5 separate regions of the Homo sapiens genome follow, and all the other regions are linked to region 1. Evidence: promoter capture Hi-C in 16 types of primary human blood cells and fetal thymus (Javierre and others, 2016). All regions are on one chromosome and are shown on one strand. The core of a region is centred on a gene start or on the middle of the fragment in contact, and the rest is flanking DNA. Distances in the headings are between cores, read along the strand shown. Region 1 holds the start of ZNF692 (zinc finger protein 692). Region 2 has its middle 13 kb from the start of OR2T10. Region 3 overlaps OR2T11 (olfactory receptor family 2 subfamily T member 11). Region 4 has its middle 12 kb from the start of OR2T27. Region 5 has its middle 9.6 kb from the start of OR14I1.

What was found. Contacts are between HindIII fragments. The CHiCAGO score rates a contact against its expected background, and 5 or more counts as called.
Region 2: a fragment that was not itself captured here is called in contact with the fragment with the promoter of ZNF692 in region 1 in 4 of 17 cell types (total B cells, naive B cells, activated CD4 T cells and 1 more); the score reaches 10.8 in total B cells.
Region 3: a fragment that was not itself captured here is called in contact with the fragment with the promoter of ZNF692 in region 1 in 5 of 17 cell types (total B cells, naive B cells, M0 macrophages and 2 more); the score reaches 15.4 in total B cells.
Region 4: a contact is called between a fragment that was not itself captured here and the fragment with the promoter of ZNF692 in region 1, in 2 of 17 cell types (naive B cells and total B cells). The highest score is 6.0, in naive B cells.
Region 5: a fragment that was not itself captured here is called in contact with the fragment with the promoter of ZNF692 in region 1 in 7 of 17 cell types (neutrophils, monocytes, M0 macrophages and 4 more); the score reaches 16.2 in neutrophils.

Annotation. Positions count from the first base shown.
Region 1 is chr1:248,857,835-248,861,951 of GRCh38, forward strand. It overlaps ZNF692 (zinc finger protein 692), which reads right to left and starts at 1,251. Exons shown (of 12, transcript NM_017865.4): 1 at 1,084-1,251; 2 at 297-487; 3 at 1-25. The coding sequence starts at 475. ZNF692-DT (ZNF692 divergent transcript) reads left to right here and starts at 1,330. Exons shown (of 3, transcript NR_186117.1): 1 at 1,330-1,412. RefSeq lists enhancers at 56-135, 736-785, 1,586-1,735 and a silencer at 946-1,445. The HindIII fragment of the contact is 15,686 bases long and covers 1-4,117 here.
Region 2 is chr1:248,608,542-248,612,658 of GRCh38, forward strand. No RefSeq gene overlaps it. Among named protein-coding and RNA genes, the nearest start is that of OR2T10, 13 kb to the left of the region's middle. The HindIII fragment of the contact is 6,444 bases long and covers 1-4,117 here.
Region 3 is chr1:248,626,292-248,630,408 of GRCh38, forward strand. OR2T11 (olfactory receptor family 2 subfamily T member 11) reads right to left here. Exons shown (of 2, transcript NM_001001964.2): 2 at 1-981. The coding sequence starts at 837. Among named protein-coding and RNA genes, the nearest start is that of OR2T11, 6.7 kb to the right of the region's middle. The HindIII fragment of the contact is 2,727 bases long and covers 965-3,691 here.
Region 4 is chr1:248,665,768-248,669,884 of GRCh38, forward strand. No RefSeq gene overlaps it. Among named protein-coding and RNA genes, the nearest start is that of OR2T27, 12 kb to the left of the region's middle. The HindIII fragment of the contact is 588 bases long and covers 1,432-2,019 here.
Region 5 is chr1:248,710,262-248,714,378 of GRCh38, forward strand. No RefSeq gene overlaps it. Among named protein-coding and RNA genes, the nearest start is that of OR14I1, 9.6 kb to the left of the region's middle. The HindIII fragment of the contact is 2,355 bases long and covers 547-2,901 here.

The DNA.
Region 1 (4,117 bases), core at 1-2,500:
GAGGACACAGCCTGAAGAAGTGTACCTGCCAGCAGGAGAAGAGGCAGGTCAGGACTCAGGTGGCCAGCCACCCTCAGCCCTGGGCACTCACACATGTAAGGGGCCAGCCCTAAGGGCCGCTATTCGCTGAGACCATGAGGAGGGGAGCAGGACCCTCGGAGGCCACAAGTCACACAGGCCGTCCTGGTAAAGTGAGAAACCTGAGGGTGGAAAAGAGCAGCAGGACAGGCCCTGGAGAGGAGGCTAGGGGCTGCTGCCTGGGTACCCTCCCCCAAGCCCTTCTCCCGGCCCCTAACCGGTCCAACAGGAACTTGGCGAGCTGCGAGTGCAGGGAGAAGCCCAGCCGCTCCTTGAGGAGGCACCACTGCTCCATGTGGCCGCCCAGGCGGATGCGGCACTTGCTGCGGCGCGCGTCCAGCTGCCGCCGCTTCTCCCGCCGCCTGCAGGACACGTCCACCGCCGGGGAGGAAGCCATGTGCACCAGAGGCTGGAGGGTGGAAGGGACGTCTTCAGCGCCCTGCCGATCTCGGGGGTCGGGGACCCGGCTCCACCTGCCGTTAGGGCCTCAGTTTCCTCATCAGTGAACTGGGGCAAGACTAAACTATTTCAATAGCAGTGGCAGGTGTGGAGCCAAACCCCGTCCTTCTATGATACAGGGTGTTGAAGCTCAGCGCTACCATGTGAGTGTCGTCGGGTGGGAGGCAGGCAGACAGAAGCAGTCAGAACAAAGGCCTGCGCCCTCCAGTCCACTGAAGTGGAGCTGTGGGGAAGGGGCGAGAGACTTTCACGGGAAATTTCAACTGGGCTGGGGGCGGTCCACACATTTCATCTTGAATAGGGCAGCGGCCTTTACTGGTTTCTAGGGGAAGGAAAGGTCGTGTCCTGGCGTGCAGCTGGGGGCGCTCTTCATAGTTGGGTCGAGTGGCGGTGAGGCCGTGGTCAGAGGTCTGGAGGGCGCCCCCCATCCACCCCGTCTTGGGCACCCCCACTTAATGCTGACAGTGAGTGGAGCGGACTAATCCCAATGGCAGTTCCCAGGCTGCCCAGAGCCCCCGTCGCGACCCACCCCCACCCCGGCCTTACCTGTGCGCCCCCACGCGCCCTCACCCCCACTGCGCCTGCGCCTGCGCCTCCCGGGCCTAGCGAGCAGGCCCGGAGCTGCTGGAAGACAGGGGCCCACCTCGCGCGCGCAGCGTTTCTCTTTTAAGAAGAAACGGTGCCTCTCGGCGTCGGCTGCTGTAGCCCGGAACTGAGGCCCGCGCCCCAGAGGGAGGGGCGAGTCGGAGGCCGACGCCGTGCGCCTGCGCACTGGGTGCCCCGCGCAACGCCCGCCGGGAATCGTGGTTGCCCGACTCAAGTCGCCCGCGCGTGTCGCGGAGCCCCGCGGCAGTTGTGGTTGGGTGGCTTCTGTGGTGAGCGTCTGCGCTTGGTGACCAAAGGTTTGAGGGAAAGTGGAAGAGACAGGGTCAGGCCTCCTGTGCTCCAACCCCAGCCCACCCGGCCTGTATGGGGACGTTGCCTCTTCACTTGTTCCCGTTTTGTATTCACCTTCGATTTCCCCCTCACAGTTGCCACCCGCAAACATGATGCAGAATCAGTCACTTTGAAAGACCCACAGAGGGTCCAGCTAGAGCCCTCTGTGGACCGCAGAGTCCCACCAGCTACAGCCCACTTCTATTACCATCAGAATTCCTCCTAAAAGTTGCCTGCATTCTCTGTGTACGCTCACTTCCCATCCTCTTCTCTTCAAATGGCTCTGATGGAGCTTTCCTCCCCACCCAGCCACTGCAGTGGCGCTTCACAAGGTCACTTGAGACGGTCATATTGCTACATAGCAGCTGTCAGTTCCGTCCGCCTCTCTGCCCTAGAAAGAGCGCGACTATGTAGCTCTCGTCCTCCTCATCTTTATGGCTCCCTCTACATTTTGGGCCCCAGTTTTACTTCTGTGACTTCATATGCTCCAGGTTTTCCACCCTCCTCACTGGCTCCTTCTATCCTTTTTTTGGATCCATTCCCTCTGTTCTGCCAAAAGATGAAGTGTGCCCTGGCTCAGGCCTTGAACCAGATCTTCTCTCGTCTGCATATGTTCTCCTGGGTGATCTAATTAGTTCCATGGCTTTAAATACACTGATGGCTCCTAGCCTAGCCCTCTTTCAACTCCAGTCATATATCTTACTGCCCGCTTGACTTACATGTGTTAACTGAGCTAACACGTGTAAAGAATGTAGGACAGTGCCTGGCATGTAGAGAGCGCTGACACATGATAGCTGATATTTTCTCCAACATAAATATGGCAAACATATAACAATAACGCCTGTACCCTCCCCCATGCCAGTAAACTATGTCATCATCCACCCACTTGTTCAGAAAAAAGGGAATCAGCCTTGATTCTTTGCCTTTTATGATACCTAAACCATATACATCAGCAAATCTTGTTGGTCCTGTCTCCAAAAATTTATCTTAAATCCAATCACTTCTGACCCTCTCAACTGCTAAAACCCTACTCCAAGCCACTGGTATTAATTTTCTGTAATTGTTGTAACAAATTGTGTTGTGTGTTGTTTTCAGCCACAAACTTGCTCCCTTTACTCAAATTTATTTTCTCACAGTTCTGGAGGCCAAGGCATCAGCAGGGCCACAGGCCATTGTAAGGGCTCTAGGGGAGAATCCTTTCCTTGCTTCTTCTAGCTTCTAATGGTGGCCAGCATTCTCTGACTTGTGGCCACGTCACTCCAATCTCTGTCTCTGAGGTCACATTGCCTCCTTCTGTGTCAAATCTCCCTCTGCTTCTCTCTTACAAGGATGCTTGTGAATGCATTTAGAGTCCATCCTTATAATCCAAATAATCTCTCCATCTCAGTATCCTAAGACAATTTCTTCTGTAAAGTATTTGCCATATAAAGTAATCGGCTGCACACGGTGGCTCACGCCTGTAATCCCAGCACTTTGGGAGGCCAAGGCGGGTGGATCACTTGAGGTCAGGAGTTTGAGATGTGCCTGCCCAACATGGTGAAACCCTGTCTCTACTAAAAATACAAAAAAAATTAGCTGGGCATGGTGGCATGGGCCTATAATCCCAGCTACTCGGGAGGCTGAGGCAGAAGAATTGCTTGAACCCAGGAGGAGGAGGTTGCAGTGAACCGAAATTGCACCACTGCACACCAGCCCGAGTGACAGAGCAAGACTCCATCTAAAATAAAATAAAGTAATCTCCACAAGTTTTGGGGATTAGGACACAGATATCTTTTCTGGGACTATTTTTAAGCCTACCATACCACTATCATCTCTCACCTGGTCTGTGGCTACATCTTCCTAATGGATCTGCCTCCTACTTTAACTTGTACTCTCACAAAGCAGGGAAAATTTCCTCAAAGATCAAATCTTTTGCTTAAAATCTGTGAGTGGTGCAATCCAAAATCCTTATCATGGCCTCAAGGACCTACTTAATTGGGCCCTTGGCTTCTTCTCTGGCATCATCCCCCAACTTTTCCCACTTTGTCCTCCCACCTTTTTGCTATTTCTCAAGTGTGCCAAGTATCCTAGAGGGAGTTCTTTTGTCTCTGGAGCACTCAATTCTCCCCTCAGCCCCCACCCCATCCCCCAGCCCACCACCCAGCTGTTCATCTGTTTGCTCCCTTCTCATCTTGTAAATCTCGGCTATAAGATCACCCACTCAGCTATAAAATCCCTCATTCAGAAAGCTCCCTTTCCTCAGTCATGCTCTACCTCACTGTGCCCTATTGTATCTTCTTCATGGCACTTACTTTCTGAAATCATCTCAGGGACTTGTTTGTGTGTTTGTTATTGGTATACGATGATTGTTGACTAGCCCAGCCTTCTCCTCTGCAGCCTAAATATCTCAAATGACATGGTGTGCAAACATGAACACCCTTAGGATGAGCCCAGTGTGTCCTGTGCATATTCCTTTTGATTTGTGGTATCAGTGACTCAACATACTTGTCTGACTAGTGTAAGGTAGGAAGGAAGATGTCCCAGCTACTTTACTCATTAATGAATGTGTAACTTTTCCAGCTACTTTACTCATTAATGAAAGTGTAACTTTCACATCAAAAGAGCAGGACTCCATCGAGAACAAACTTTATCCTTTCCTCATGGT
Region 2 (4,117 bases), core at 542-3,041, 250 kb before region 1:
ACATTTTCATTCTAATCATTTACATGTATTTTTCAACCACAATATTTATGTTTGACCCTTTTTGTTGGTTTCCAAATCCACTGACACTTTTTAACCTCTCTCTTTATTTTCCTCAGGATTTTTAAGCCTCTTTTTCTGGTCCTTCATTATTTTTAAGCTGTTTCTCTTCATTTGTTAACATATTTTTATTTTACTTTTATCTTCTATTTATTCTCTAACATCTGTCACCTCAGTATTGATTTCTGTTTTTGCTTTATACCGATTCCTTTGACCCTCATGTAGCATTTGAATTCTATTACAAAGAAATATCAGATTTCATTTCAACTTTATTTCAAGGGAACCAACTTTTCATAATTTTGGTAGATATTATGTTGTATGTTTTCTATTTTGCTTTAGCTTTCTTTTTACTTTTGATATATGATGTTGCCTAAAACGAAATATTTAAGTAAATGTATTTCCATTCCTAGCTACCTATGTGTTTTAGGCAGATATGAGTTTTGAAATGTATTTGAAACCTTTTGGATCCTTTATATATGCTACATAGCTTTCATAGGACACCAAGCGACGCAATGTTTTACAGCCTTGTCTTGTATATTCTGTCCTATCCATTGTTACATGTCTGAGACCAAATTTGGCTGTTTTTATCATTTCTCTTAAACATCAGAACCTCATCTCCATCATTTTTCTGTAAACCTTGCTTTGAATTCTTCAGTCTCTCCTATCTTTAGTTATCTAATAACACATGCAATTTAATTCAGACTGATAAAGGATATTGTCTTAAATCTTTCTGCCTCTCTTTTGTCCTTACTGTGCCCCCAGTGACCAGCATAGGAATGGGCACAAAGCAGGCACCTGACTGTGGAGTGAATAAACCAATGCCTGGCAACATTTAGAATTTATAATCGGCAAATCCACTACTTAATTATATTGAGAGGATTAATTTAAAACAATCAACTTGAAAACAGTTAAAATGGTAGCTCAGTTCATTTACTGAAAACAAAGGAAGCATTTTAAACAATTCTCTTGGTCTTCGTAACCTTTCGGGACTAGCCCCCTAATTACCTGCAAGAATAGAAGAGCCCAGGGACCTCCTGAGAAGCCCAGTTTCCTCCGTGTTCCTTATGCTTTTTCCCTTCGTGGAAAAAAGTGATTGCACCTTTCTTTCCATTTCCTAATTCTACATCATGCCTTGTATTTAGCTGGAGACTCACTCAGAGTGGGAGAGCCTGAGAGAAGAGCTGGAGACAAGCAAGGTCTGCAGGGGATTCCAGGGCAGGCCGGCCCATGACCTGGCCAGCCCTGCCATGACCTGCTTTCCCACCCAGGTAAGCTGCTTACACTTCCGAGGTGAAACTATTAGAAAATTAAGAAAAAAAAATTAGACGTGTGTAAATTTAGGAGGCACAACATTTCCCTGGAGTTGAAGGGAACTATACTAAGTTCTACAGAACTTGAGTATTTGAAGATGCTTAAATTATCATTGTGCTCTATTCAGCCACAAGGATCTTGTGCTATAAATTTATCGTAGAATTTGCTGTTAAAACACACCCACACTAAAGAAGCCACCACATTACTCTATTTGTGACTTTTGTTGCAGAAATATTACTATACATTTATTTTTCATATTTCAGCTGTGAATTTTTAAAATCACATTCAAAGGCATGAAGAGTTAGGTAGTGAATTGTTTACTAAAGTGTCATTTTAAAAGAAATTCAAAAGTTTGTTTTACAAGTTTAAACATTTCATGTATACTAATCAGGGTCAGCCTTAATGAAGCTATGGTCTACTTAGAATCGAAACCTGCATATTAAGCTATTAAATGTTACTCAACAAAGTCACTGAAAATTTCTAGTGCCATAATCTGATGAAAACAGAAAAGTTATTTCTCCTCAATAGATTGTCAATGGTTATGGTAAAAAATTAACCAGTGAAATGTGTGGTTCCTTGGCACGACTGCAACACAATTCTGGGAAAATACTACAAGTCTCAAACTTTCCATTGTGATTCACTGAACTAAGGAAGCATTACTCAGTAAATTATTATGAAAATTTAGTAAAAAGTTAGGTGAAACTAGGTCCTGTTATCACATTAATTTAAAATATCAAATCGATTAAAGGTTTACATGTGGAAAATAAAAATATAAAACAAGACACATGAATGGGTAAAGATTTAGCTAAACGGTGAGCAAAGGCAATGAAGAAAACATGGAAAGTAAAATTAGTATTTGAAAACTGAAAACAATCTCTGAATAAAACAAATTTTTTCTAATTAGGAAATTTATGGTTCACATGACGAATCAAAGGCTGAGGATCGGTAATGTGTAAGATTCTCTTGCATATTCATAAGACAGACATGGCAATTTTTAAAATGACACAAACATGTTAGTAAACAATTTGTGGAAGACTTGTACATACAAAATAAGACAATGACAAAAAGCACAAAAATGTCCATTAATTTGTTGAATAACAGAGAGGCAAAAAAATGTGTGATTATCAGTGTTGCTGTGAGTCAGTGAAAACACCAGTGCGGCCTTTTGTGGTATGCCGGGGTAGATCACTGACGGGTACAACCCGAGTATATGAACATGAAAGGGACACTGTTTAATAAAAATGTAATAACCGATACAATAAAGGAATTCCTTACACAGATATTCATTATAGTATTGTTTTAGATTAGTAAAAAATTGGAAGAAATCTACATTGGAAATAAGAAAACTCAGATTCTGTTATTAAGGTAAATTGTGAAGTTATATTCAAAACAATATTTTTAAAAAGTAAACACTGAAAATATGTACACAAGAATATTTATGCAGATGTAGAGCTATATACAGCATGATTCTAATCTATAGTATTTTAATATATCTATGTATCTATATATTAAAAATATCATTTTCTCCCACAAAAAATAAGTATGTGAGATGGATATGTTAATTATCATGACATGGTCATTCCACAATGTGTACATGTATTGAAATATCTCACTGTACCCAAATATATATACAATTGTCAATTAAAAACAATTTTCAAAATCCTATTTTGAAAATTTTTATTCTGACTTGATCATTATACAATGTATATATGTGTCAAAACATCACCCCATACCCCATAAAAATATACAATTGTTATGAGTCGATTAAAAACAAAATAAACTAAAATTTTTACAAAGAAAAAATTTTATAGTAAATGTGGTAGGATTTATTTTATACCTTTATTTCTCCTTTTAGTTCCATCTATGTCTTAAATTATGTATAGCACTCACAGATGTATTTATAGAGTGAAAAAGATGTTTTAAAAAGATAATATAGTTTTAATCATAAGAAATTATTGACATGAATTTTTTTTGTCACCACGCAGGGCCCCCTGGTTTGGGCCCAAACACAGCTGCCCCACTCTGGGCTGACCACACCTATTGGTAGCAGCTCTGCATTTCTCTGGGATGGGGCCCAAGAAACATGTGAAAGGCCCTCTTCCACAACACTGCCAGGACCCTGCTCACACTGCCTCCAGGCTGAGGGGAACATAAAGCCTGAGTCACCCCAGAGGTGTGGCCTGTAGCCCAGGAGTACCAAGCTGAGATCTACAGCCAGCACTAAAGGAGGAAGAGGAGCCCACACTTTCAGAGCACTGAGAGGGAGCAAGCCTGCAATTGTGAGAAAATAGGCCCTTGTTCAGCCCCACGGCTCCTCTATCTACCGGCCATTATGCTTAAGCACCATCTACTGGATCACAGCCCAAACTTCGACACCAAAAATACTCTAATATACCTCCCCATGAAACCAAGGCCAAGAACTCAGCTATGAGTAAAGACCCTGCACAAAGCCTTGGGCCCTCTGAAAACATCCAGAAGTCAACTGACTGTACTCAAGTTACACCACAGTGAAGGGGACATGAGCCCACACAGATGAGAAGGAACCAGTGCAAGAACTCTGGCAACTCAAAAAGCCAGAGCATCTTTTCTCCAAACAAATGCACTAGCTCCCCCAACTAGGGTTCTTAAGTAGTCTAAAATGGTTGAAATGACAGAAATAGGATTCAGAATATAGATAGGAATGAAGACCATCAAGATTCGGGAGAGAGTTGAAACCCAATCCAAAGAATCTAAGGATTACAATAAAATA
Region 3 (4,117 bases), core at 1,078-3,577, 230 kb before region 1:
CGTGACAATGGTATAGAAGGCTGACACTACTTTGTCCTGCTCGGGGGTGTGGAAGGACTGGGGCAGCACGTATGTGTAGAAGGCAGCCCCATAGAAGATGCTAACTACAGTCAAGTGGGAGGAACAAGTGGTGAAGGCCTTTTTGCGACCTTCAGCAGAGGGCATGCGGTGGATGGTTAACAAGATGAGGGAGTAGGAAGTGGAGATGATAGAGATGGGGATGAGCAACATGAGGACACAGCAGATGTACATCAGAGTTTCATACAAGGACGTGTCTGCACAGGCCAGTTTCAGAACTGCTGGGATCTCACAGAAAAAATGGTTGATACTTCGGGAGCCACAGTAAGGGACATTCATGGTGATGGGAGTGAGCAGAAAGCCATCGAGGGAGCCCCCAAACCAGGCACCAGCAGCCAGCAAAAGACACTTCTTGCGGTTCATCAGGACTGGGTATCTCAGAGGGTTACAGACAGCCACGTAGCAGTCATAGGCCATGAGGCCCAGGAGGAAGAACTCAGAACCAATCATGGTCAGGTAGAGGAAGATCTGGATGCCACAGGCCACAAAGGAAATGATCTTCTCTTTAGAAACCATGTCTGCCAGGAGTTTTGGGACAGTGGTACAGATGAAAAGGGTGTCCATGATGGACAGCTGACTGAGCAGAAAGTACATGGGGGTGTGGAGGCGAGAGTCCACCTGAATCAAGAATATCATGACCAAATTTGCAGTCACGGCCCCCAAGAAAACAGCAAGGATCACTGTAAATACAATCCCGGCAGCCTCACTGTTCACCAGAAGCCCCAGGAGGGTGAAGTCAGAGGATGATGTGTTCGTCATTGATATGGCCCACGAGCGTCCCAGGGCAACGGGAAGACACAAGGACCAGGAAGGAGGCAAGAGAACACGGTCAAGATGGGAAAGGTCTGCAGTAGAGGTGACACTTCTGAGGGTACCGTCAGGATGAAGCTTCCAGGCTAGAGGCTAGAGAAGAACAGGCAGACCAACATGCACATCATGAAGCAAAAACCATGGCTGCATTTCCCTGTCAGAGAACAGCTCCTTCTATATTGCGTCTATGGTTCATCATGCTGCTGGAGGTTATGGTAACTGCGTGATACAATTGCTGTATGCTACACCAAGAATGGGGTTTTAACCATATCTGTTCTGTCCATGCTGCATTTCTTGTATCCAGAAAGTTATCCAGCCCATAGTAGGGTTAAGTAAATACTAGTTGGAAAAAAGGGTGATTCATTGACCAAATGGATAAAGGGGAGTGAAGTAAATCACTGAAGAAATGAAGGGTTAGGATAACTATTAGGGAACGTTTTATTCACGAAGCCCCATGTTTCTGTTCTATTTCTTTTTAATTATTTGTATAAGTTTAAGGACGACAAGTGCAGTGTCATGACATGGATGTATCGCATAGTGGAGTCTTGTCTTTTAGGGTAACCGTAAGTCAAATAGCGTAGGTTGTGCTCACATTACTAATTTCTCACCCCTCGCTCCGCTTTCACCCCCTACTCTTCCAAGCCTTCGATGCCTATTATTCCACTGTTTATGTCTAAAGTTGGGACTCCTCACTGTTCTTTGTGCTGTTTTGCTAACCTTTTTGCAGATCTTTCTTCAGATAAATTAGAAGGTAAAAAAAACTATTTGCAAAAAGCTCCCAGAATTAAGTTTTTAAAAAGCAGTTTATGACACTAAGCTGACTCCCTGCATTGCTCTCCATTGCTACTGTAGGTTTGGGAAATGGGCAGGGAAATTAAAGGAAAATGTTGGTAGGTTGAAGCTATGTCAGCAGCAGACACACAGGAGCAGGGTTCACCAAGCTACACGTCTGCCAGCACTTACCAGAACTGAGGCCAGAGCCAAACTCAGGCTTAGAAAGCTACGGAGCAGATACATGGAAATGTGACAGCAACAGGCCACCGTTTAAGAAGGAATTTTATCTTTAACATACCAGGTGGAAGATAGATTTAACTGTTAGACAAGAGAAAGAACCATACATGTAGTAAGAATCGCCCCCCTCTCCCCGCCAGCACCTCCTCCCCGGCATGGTAGGCCTCAGTGGCTTGAGTCTCAAACATTTGTGTAAAAATGAAAGTCCGATCAACGGGGGAGCCCGGATGCTGCAGGGTTTCCCCCCATTCACATGTTGCTAGACACACCTTGGCTCCACTATCTAGTGTTGCCAGATTTAGCAAAGATACAGGATTCTCAGCTATGTTTGACTTTCAGATAATCAAAAAATGTTTTAGTGCAAGTTCATAATGTTCTTAACACCAAAAAAAAGGGTTCACTGTACATCTGAAATTCAAATTTAGCTGGTTGTCCTTTACCATGCTGAAGTCATATCTGGTTTCACAAAGGTACCAGAATTGTTATGACCTTGAAAAGTGACCAGTAGAATCAGTACAAATAGAGTCTAAACAAAAAAGTTATTTACTAACATCAAAATTAAATTGGCTTACTCCCAATTTCCCTCTGATTGATATATTCATATTACTGTGAAAGGGGCTAAGGACTGTGGCCTCCTCTGTCAGGCCTCCCAGAAATACTCCGTGGTCAAAACTCTACTTCAGTGAGTCTTAGCCTCCTGATCCACTCCTGATCGTTTCAATTCTATTCCATTTCCCAAGGATAGTGAACACAAATATTGCCTAAAAATATATTCTGCTAATTCAAAGTCCAAAAATATAAAAGAAACATTCTATATTAGACTCCAAAAACTTCCTAATAGAATTAACCCACACTAAGGAGAAGAGAGCACATCTCTTTGTCATATTAAACAAATTCAAACATTTTATCCAAAATGTATAAAACAGTAAAAACAGGCCAGGTGTGGTGGTTCATGCCTGTAACCCCAGCACTTAGGGAGGCCAGGGCGGAAGGATCACTTGAAGCCAGGAGTTTGAGATGAGCCTGGGTAACAGAGCTCGTCTTTATAAAAAACTAGCCAGGCGTGGTGGTGCACGTCAGTCGTCCCAGCTACTCAGGAGGTCGAGTTGGGAGAATTGCTTGAGGCTAGGAGTTTGAGGTTACAGAGAGCTATGATTGTGCCACTGCACTCCAGCCTGGGTGACAGAGCAAGACCCTGTTTCTAAAAAAGAAATGAATAAGTAAAACTTATTTATTAACAATTAAAAACCTATAATATTTCTCATGTCCATAGCTAGTAGGTGCCTGGCTTAATCCATCATGACACATTTTACCCTGGTTGTTCCACGAACTTTCCCACGATCTCCCTGCTGTCTCATGAATCCCTCCAAGTCTAGTCTCAGCACAACCATCAAAGTCACATCGGGACCCGTGCATCCCGCCACGCCACTTTCTGCTTGAAACCCTGCAGTTGTGCTTTACATCATACATTAAGGCCCATCACGTTCTGAACATTTTGTCTTCTGAAATGATCTCCCGCCGACTCCAGTCTGTCTGTCCCTGGGCTGCAGCGACGGTGGCTTCCTTGTCCTCTGTCCCCACTTTGCAAGAGCCCTGAGCCCAGGCCATTGCCTCTGCTGCTCCCCTTGCCTGGGGCTCCTCCTCCAACCGTGCAAGGCCATCCATCCCCTCATGTACTTCAGGGCTTTGCTCAAAAGCCACCTGCTCAGAGGTCCTATGACTATTTTTCTTCACTTTTCTTAACACCGTCTGACACTACCTTGTGTTTTGTGTCTCTTCAAGCTAGAAAGTAAGCTTCATGTGAATAAGGATTTGTGCCTATTTTGTTAACTGTACTCTCACCATCTAAAGATACGACTGGCACATTGTAAATCTTTGAATAAATCATTTTTAAACACATTCAGCTAGCAAAAATGCAAATTATTTTATGCTTTTTAAGGAATACCTCTAGAATTCCTTCAAAACACCTCCTGATTTTATATAATGTGCTGAAGAGAAATAATTTTTTTTAATGCTAGGCACTTGTGTTTATCTTCAATGCAAAATAGACAAAAAAATGGGATCCACCAATATTTGATCAAAAAAAACTTCATTCTAGGAAAAATAAATAACAAGTTTCTAAGATCAGACAGCAATACAACTTCTAAATCATTAAGGTTTATATACAGTACAAATTTGAGACAATTACGCTCTGGTTTAAAATACTTATAGAGTAATT
Region 4 (4,117 bases), core at 476-2,975, 190 kb before region 1:
AAGACTTGAAGTCAGTAGAAAAAAATGTTTGAGTTAAGGTAAGGGAGTTTGTGGAAGCTAAGATTCTTGTTACATATATGAAGCCTCCATGTAGCTGGCTTCAGAAAGAATAGATGGTAAATGTCTCTTTTTGGACCTTAAAAGGTGTGAGCCTCACAGTTTATCTTTCCTAGATCTGGAAAAGGCCTAGCTGCACTAATGGCAGATGCAAAATTTCCCCCACAAAAGATAGCTTTGCAGGGCCATTTCGAAATCTGTCATATAAATATATTTTGTGGTAAAATATTTTTATTTCTTTCAGTGTCTACTATCTGTCATGTGATGCTATATGGGAGTCAGGTTGGAATTTGGTATCTTATTGTTTTGTCAGTCCTGTGATCTCTATTTTAATGTTAATTCCACAATGGAGGGAGTGCAACAAGGTGTGCCCAATCCCCCTTCCCTCATGGCCTGAAATTTACTTTTTCAGATTGCTCTCAGCTCCACTGGCCAAGAAGGGGGATCCATTCAGTTGATTGGGCGGCTTAGGATTTTACTTTTAGATTTCATCAAGAAGCCATATTTGGAAGGATCATGTTCTGAACCCTGACAGAGGAGTTTAAAATTTTTCACATCTGTCTATTAACTCATCATAGACTAAACTAGTTTATGCAGTTAAATAAAATAATGAACTATTTCAAAACAAAATTTGACTCTAGTAGACAGTGTCTGCACAATCATAGCAATCCAGTTGTGAAAAATGTTATAAAAGAACCAAGAAATAACCATGTGACTACAAAACAATGAGGGATTAGGCATCAGAAGACTGAAAATAAGCAACATAGTTGAGTGTACTCTATTTTCCATCTCTCTCATTTTATTGTATTTACTCTTGCATTCCATGAGACAGTGTTTCTGCCTCTATCCAAAATTAGACCTCCTACTTGGGCTTTGTGTTGCAACCTCAGAAAATAATAATAATAATAATAATAAATCCCAAGCCCTGTCATTGACTGATTGGAAACTCTCTTGCCCAGGGAGATCTCAAAGAAATCTGAAAAACTAGTTCAGGCCATGCGGGAAGGGAGGTCAGACATGACTCCTTGTATGCCATCCCTTTGGAGTTTAGGCAAAACTGACCAGTATTGACATTAACACAGTGATTATAAGACTGACAAAACAGACTGTAGCAACAATAGCAGATTCCAACCTGACTCTGGTGTAGAATCACATGACAGGTAACAGGCCCTGAAGGAAATAAAATATTTTACCCCAAAATGTATTTCTTTGACATGTTTTGGAATGGCCCTGCAAAGCCAATTCTTCTGGGGGAAATCTGAATTCTGTATAGAATTTGCTTCCCTTTCTAAGTCCTCGTGAGGATCCAGAAAACATTTAACTAAGAGTCTGACACCTTTTACCATCTATCCTCTCTGAAGCCTGCTACTTAGAAGCTTTCATAGGTTGATTAAAAAATTCTTGACTGGCAGTTGGTTGAAAGAGTTAAACTAAACACTTGAGGTCTCTAGCATTACCATTGAATGCTAAATGACTGACCAGCATTAACATTAAAACAGAGATCATGAGACTGACAAAACAGATTCTAGGTGGTAATAAGATACTAAATTTCAACCTGACTCTCATATAGCACCACATGACAGATAGCAAACCATGAAGTAAATAAAAATACTTTACCCTGGAACATACTTATTTGACAAATTTTGAAATGGTCCTGCAAAGGTATCTTTTGTGGGGGAAATTTTGCATCTGTAGAGAAACTTGATTAATGCCGCTAAGCCTTTTCCAGATCCAGGAGAGAGTAAATGAGAGTCTGACATCTTCTAAGGTGCAAGAGAGACATTTGTCAACTATTCTTTCTAAAGCCTGCTACATGGAAACTTCATCTACATAACAAGAACGTTGGCTTCCAGGACCCCGTTATCTTAACTCGAGCATTTCTTTCTATAACAAAAACCTTGGCTTCCACAACTATGTAATCTTAAGCATTCCTTTCTACTGACATTTTAAGTCTTTAGACAAAGCTTAACTCAAACAGTTGCCAATCAGAAAATCTTTGAATCTATTTTTGACTTGTAAACCTTGACTTTAAGATGTCTAAACTTTCTGGAACCAATGTATATCCCTCATGTATTGATTTATCTCTTTGATTGTAACTTTTGTCTCCCTAAAATGTATCAAACCAAGCTATAACCCAACCACATTGGGCACATATTCTCAGGACCATCTGGGGCTGTGTCCTGGGCCATTTGGCTCAGAATAAACCTCTTCAAATATTTTAGAGTTTCACTTTTCTTCATCAACATTATTTGGTGCCCAATGCAGGACCTCAGAGAAGACTAAGGACTCTTCTCCCCAAAAGGAGTCATGTGAACTTGGAAATAAGGTACCAATTTGGGCTTGTTACCAGTGGAAAGTCTTGACTACAAGTTGTCCAGGTCCTGCTCCCAGACCTTGGTGTTTTCTCTTTTAGGAAGTTAGCATAAATTGGCCTTAAGTTCCCTGTCTCCAGGTCTCCAGACCATATTCTCCTGCTGCAGGCTTATTGAAAGCCTCCTGACTTTGAGGTTCTCCATAGGTGGAACTGGTAAGTAAGTACTCCTGAGCCACAGATCCCTTATGTAGTTAATAGTACTTTGGTTTATTCTGAGCTGGTCTTTTCCTGGGAACTTGTTTCAGATTCTAATTTTGGATTCACAGGTTCATTCTAGAGTTTTCTCCATTGCTTTTTTCTCCAAAAATTAGTCTCAATTGGTTCATCTGTGCATTTGCTTGAAAAACCTGATGTTTGTATAAGTGAATGAGAGACAACTTCTGAGCCCCACTGCACTGAAACCCACGCTACAGTCTGGCTCCTCCACTAAAAAACAAACAAACAAAAAAAAAAACTTGCAAAGCAAATTCTCAAAGATTGAGAAAAGACAAGGAGATGACCTCCTTTGGGGCACCCCTGGGGGTTTTATGGCACTCTACTTGCAAATGTTTGTGTAAATGTGAAGGTTTGAGAGCATGCTTGGTTTTCTAGTACTCTGGCTGGTTATGTATTATAGTCTGTTCTGGCACATTTTTAAACTGATGGGTAAATTCAGAGCTCAAAGTTGACCTGCAACTATAGAATTAAATATAGCATCTCCTAAATTCTCAATTTCTCTATTTTATTTTTCTGTTTTAAATGTACTGTTGCTTTTCTACTGGTTTTGAGATAAAACCCATTGTTTAAATTAAACCATCTTTTGCAAGCTGGTGAATCTGTATTGCTGTCTTGTGACTAGAGTTCTGAAATAAAACCTATGGGATCTTTGTATCTGTGTATCTATGTTGAGTTGTGTTTATGTTACATGTACATGTATTTTCTTATATGTTGTAACTGCAAGGTATCAAATGGGCTTAAAAATAAAGGATTACTCATAAAGTCCAAATGCTCTTCAAGTTCACATGACAAGTAAATCTTCAATAAATAAGCTGGCTTTATAATTATTAGTAAAATAAAATTTGAAATGCCTTCAGAATTGTCAGCATACATTTTTGTCTGGATTTATTGGTGAAATAGTTTTATATTTAGCGGTGTTTGTATTATAAGGTACCAAACTTTGTCATGAAGGTTATAAAACTTTAAAACCCATCCCTTAATGATCATTGTGTAATTTTTTATAAATAAGACATTTAATACTGTTGATTTATTGAAAATAGGTAAAACCTTAGTGGTTGGCCAAAAAAAAATCAAATAAACATATATTTAACATTTGGTTCTTATGTAGGTAAACACCTGAAATATTCACAGCCTATAAGAATGGTTAGCTGAAAAATAACTTTAATGATGACTAGCTTTGTCTAATATGTCAGTTTTTGTAAGTAACCTAGGAAAACTGTTTTAAAAAATAAATTAGGTAGCTTTAATGGCATAAATGCTTATAAATGAACTTGTCATATAATTTAAAATCTTAAAGTTAAAGTAAATAATACTCATTAAGTGTCTGGATCATTTCTAATTTAAAAAACAGAAAAACATATTTCTAAAATAATATAAAATGGTTCTCATCTATAAAATACTGATATATGACAGACAATTCAAGATTTACTACTTCCTAGGTTTTCACAAAAATTTAAGGTTCTAAGAATA
Region 5 (4,117 bases), core at 474-2,973, 150 kb before region 1:
TTCTTTGGAAACGTTAACAGTCTTTTGTTACCTTTCCTTTTTACTTTTAATGGCTAAACACAATCTTTTCCCTTTTTAAGCTATTTAAGAAAAGCAACACCTTAAAATAATACAACAACAATTAGATGAAACTGAGGTCCAGATAACTCTCCTTTGCTGATTCTATTCTTTGTACTCAGAAGTGCCAGTGTTCATGAAGACCTGTAGTCCCCACATGATGAGAGGCAAAAACATGAGAATTATTAGTTTAGGTCACATTGTACACTGAGTTTTGTGGTGGGTGGTTTTTATCTTATTTAGGGAAGTTTAAAACAATCTTATTTAGGGAAGTTTTCTCTTATTTAGGGAAGTTTATTTTATTTAGGAATGTTTAAAAAAGTTTAAAACAATTAGGGAAGTTTAAAACTACATATTTCATCCTACTGACAGAGTTAAGCTTGCTTCATCTGCCTAGTGTCCTGAAGAAATTTCACAAGAGGTTACGAGAAAATGTAGTTTCAAAACCAGCAACGGCAGCAATATCCACAGCCGGTTATGGAGATTTTAAGCTTTTGTTTGAAAACCAGTTTCTAAAAATGAATCCAGTTGCAATAGCGTATGTATTTTAAAGAGAATGATAATTATATAGGGCAGTAGAAGAAAAGCTGGAAAAAGAACACAACAAACTTGAATGTTGATGCAATTTCATGCTGCTCTTCATTTATATCTTTGTATCTTATAAAGATAAAATAGGGAGATATAAATAGGGAATCAAAAATGTACATAGTTGAGTGAAAATTAAGCATAAGCACAATTATTTAATGTGTAGAGTTTGTGTTTGAGATTGTGAAAATGTTTCAGAGATGAATAGTAGAGGTGGTTACACAACGTGGTGAATGTACTTAATGACACTAAGTTATACACTTGAAAATGGTTTCAATGGCAAATTTTATGCTATGTATATTTTGCCACAATAAAAAGGTTTTTTAAGAGTCAGTAGCTCAAAAGAAGACAGAGAGATCAAATGGCTAGAGATGCCTAGCACTCACCTTCTCCACAAAGAAGGACCAAAGTAACAAATTGATAAACACACATTGACTAGAATGTCTAAGGAAGAACACTGGAATTCAGCAGATAGTGTTCAAATTCAAAGAAAAGAAACTTTGAGGCACAAAAACTCAGGATGACAGCATAGAGAGGTAAGCAATGCAGCCTACCGAGATGTGCTTGGAGCCAGGAGGGACTCCCTCCCCATTGCGGAGAAAAGGTTAGCAGGAGGTCCCCAGAAGTCTATATTTCCACCAGACACCTGCAGTCATAGCTACAGGAGAGCCCTCAGCCCTCACAGTCCCTTAGTCTAGTATAGGGTACTGCCTAGAGTCCACATGACTTTACTACTCCAGAGAGAGAATTTATGCTGGATTCCCCCAATGTCCCAGGACCCAGGGCTGCAGCATGGCACCATTTTGGGAGTGGAGCCATCACCAGAGTACATACTGTCCAGGGGCCCAATTGCTCCTTCATCTCCACATCCATCCCTGGGGTCTCATCCACATCCCACCACAGGTACCCAGAGTGTTGCTGCATAAAGACACAACTGAGATCTGTTATAGCTGTGCAGCTGTGACCCTGGCACCTGAGCCCATGCAGCCCCTTATACCCTGTGGAGCCAGAAGACTGGTGTGTGTGCTCCCCAGACCCTGAAAGCCACCTGCCTGGGCTTTTGCTGCTTCTGCTGCAGGACACATCCACTCTAGTGGTAGTGTCATCTCACACCTGCACATACTGCCCAAGGGCTAAAGGAATGGCCTGCCCAGAGCCTGCTACCACCAACACCAGCACCCATGAATGCCACCAATGGGATGAAGACTGACAGTAAAGGGATGGAAAATAATATTCCATGCAAATGGAAATCAAAAGCATCCAAGAATAGCTCTATTTATGTCAGACAAAATAGACTTTAAGTCAAAAAACATAAAAATAGACAAAGAAAATCATTAAATAATGATGAAGAAATAAATTTAGCAAGAAGGTATAACAATTATAAATATATATGCACCCAACACTGGAGCACCAATGTAAAGCAAATACAATTAGATCTAAAGGGAGAGATAGACCCCTAATGTAATAATAGTTGGAGACTTTGTGAAAGGAAAATAAATCTTGGGGCCCCAAAATCACTAAGCTAAAGGGAAAAGTCAAGCTGGGAACTGCTTAGGGCAAACCTGCCTCCTATTCTATTCAGTCACCCCTCTGCTCACTGAGATAAATGCATATCTGATTGCATTTGGTCTTTGGAGGGGCTAGTCAGAAACTCAAAAGAATGTAACCATTTGTCTCTTATCTACCTATGACCTGGGAGTTCCCTCCCTGCTTCGAGTTGTCCTGCCTTTGCTTCGAGTTGTCCTGTCTTTCCAGACTGAACCAATGTTCATCTTACATATGTTGATTGATGTCTCATGTCTCCCTAAAATGTATAAAACCAAACTGCGCTCTGAGCGCCTTGGGCACATGTCCTCAGGACAACCTGAGGCTATGTCCTTTGTGTGCATCCTCAACCTTGGCAAAATGAACTTTTTAAATTAACTGAGACCTATCTCAGATATACAGGATTCACATTTTGTTAACTGTGGAGGGATTCTGAATGGAGATGCCCCTTGACCTTTGAAAAATCTCCTATTGGTGCTTGGTACCCGCATGAGCTAACTTTATGGCTCAAACCAATAGGACAATTTGCTGAGGTCTGGGAGCACCCCCTCCAGATGATACAGGAGCTAGAAAGAAATTATTTAGGCAGTTAATGAGGGTAAGAGAGTCCTTAGCAAGGTTTTGCTTTTAATAAAAAGCAGACCCCAAATCATTTCTTTTCTAACAAAGAGCAGCCTGAAAAATCAAGCTGCAGACATGGAAAAGCAAGCTAGAAGCTTGCATGGGTGAGTGCTGGCAGTTGTGCCAATAGGAAAAGGCTACCTGGGGGCCAGGCATGTTCAACATGGAGGCTCCATCTTCCCTTTTCTCTTTCAATCACATGTACAGTAAAGGAACAGACAACATGGTGCCAGCCAGGTAGGGGACCCATCTGCATAATAAAAGATTAGGATGGGGCTGCCAGCTTCTTTGTGTGCTATGTAAATGGCACACCTGCTCCTCCCAATCTCTCGTCTCCTGTGTAAATCACACTATGCCTCCTCAAGCTAATCCATAAAACCACATGCATTTCATCACGAAACCAGAAGACCCACTTGGAACCCCTTCTCTCTCTGGAGAGAGAGTTTTTTTTCTTTCTCTAGCCTATTAAACTTCCACACTTAACTTCACTCTGGTGTGTTTGTGTCCTTGATTTCCTTGGTGTCAGGCAACAAACCTCAGGTATTACCCCAGACAAACAATACTGCTTCACAGAGAATACCTGATCTCCCAAAATTTGGTTAAGATCTGAAGTTTATTTTGCCGTACAACTCCATTTTTTGAAGTTTTACTTGCTTCCAACAAGGAAGGCAAGATTTCTTGCTTCCATGATGATGGAAGGCAGGTAATTCCTCTATGGAGTTGGAGCTCGCTCCCAACAGGGAAGATGAGTTTGAGTTTTATTCCTGACTCTAGGATGGTAGAGGCTGTCTTCAGCCTGAGACCCATCCCTAAGTAAGTTAACAACCAGCTGTTCCTAATTTCTCTTTACCATTAGAGTGCCCAGTAATCATATTGTTGGGTTTTTTTATTGTTTTTTCCAGACTTTCTTCCATCAGATTTGGTCAAATCTGAGTGAGAATTTCAAATTTTGGGTAACAAAGCCTCTCTAATTTGGCTAAAATTCCTCTCCACTGCACAGGAAGGGAAAAAAACAAACACGTGCTTGGTTTCTGAGCTTGCTTCCTGTCTTAGAAAACAAATATTTTTTCATTCACTTTTCTTTCACACTATACCTCCTTCCCCCTTTGCCATATGCAGTACTACAAAATCTAGAGAAGACTTCTAGTGACTTGAACCCCTTTAAAGAATTCAGAACAAAGGCACCATTCACCCCTTTGGGCGTATTTTTTGGTAAGAAGCTTAAAGAGAAATAATTTTATATGAGAAAGAATCTTGTATGGTATATTTAGTCCTAGAATAAAATGACTGGTTGTTTAAGGAAGAGGGA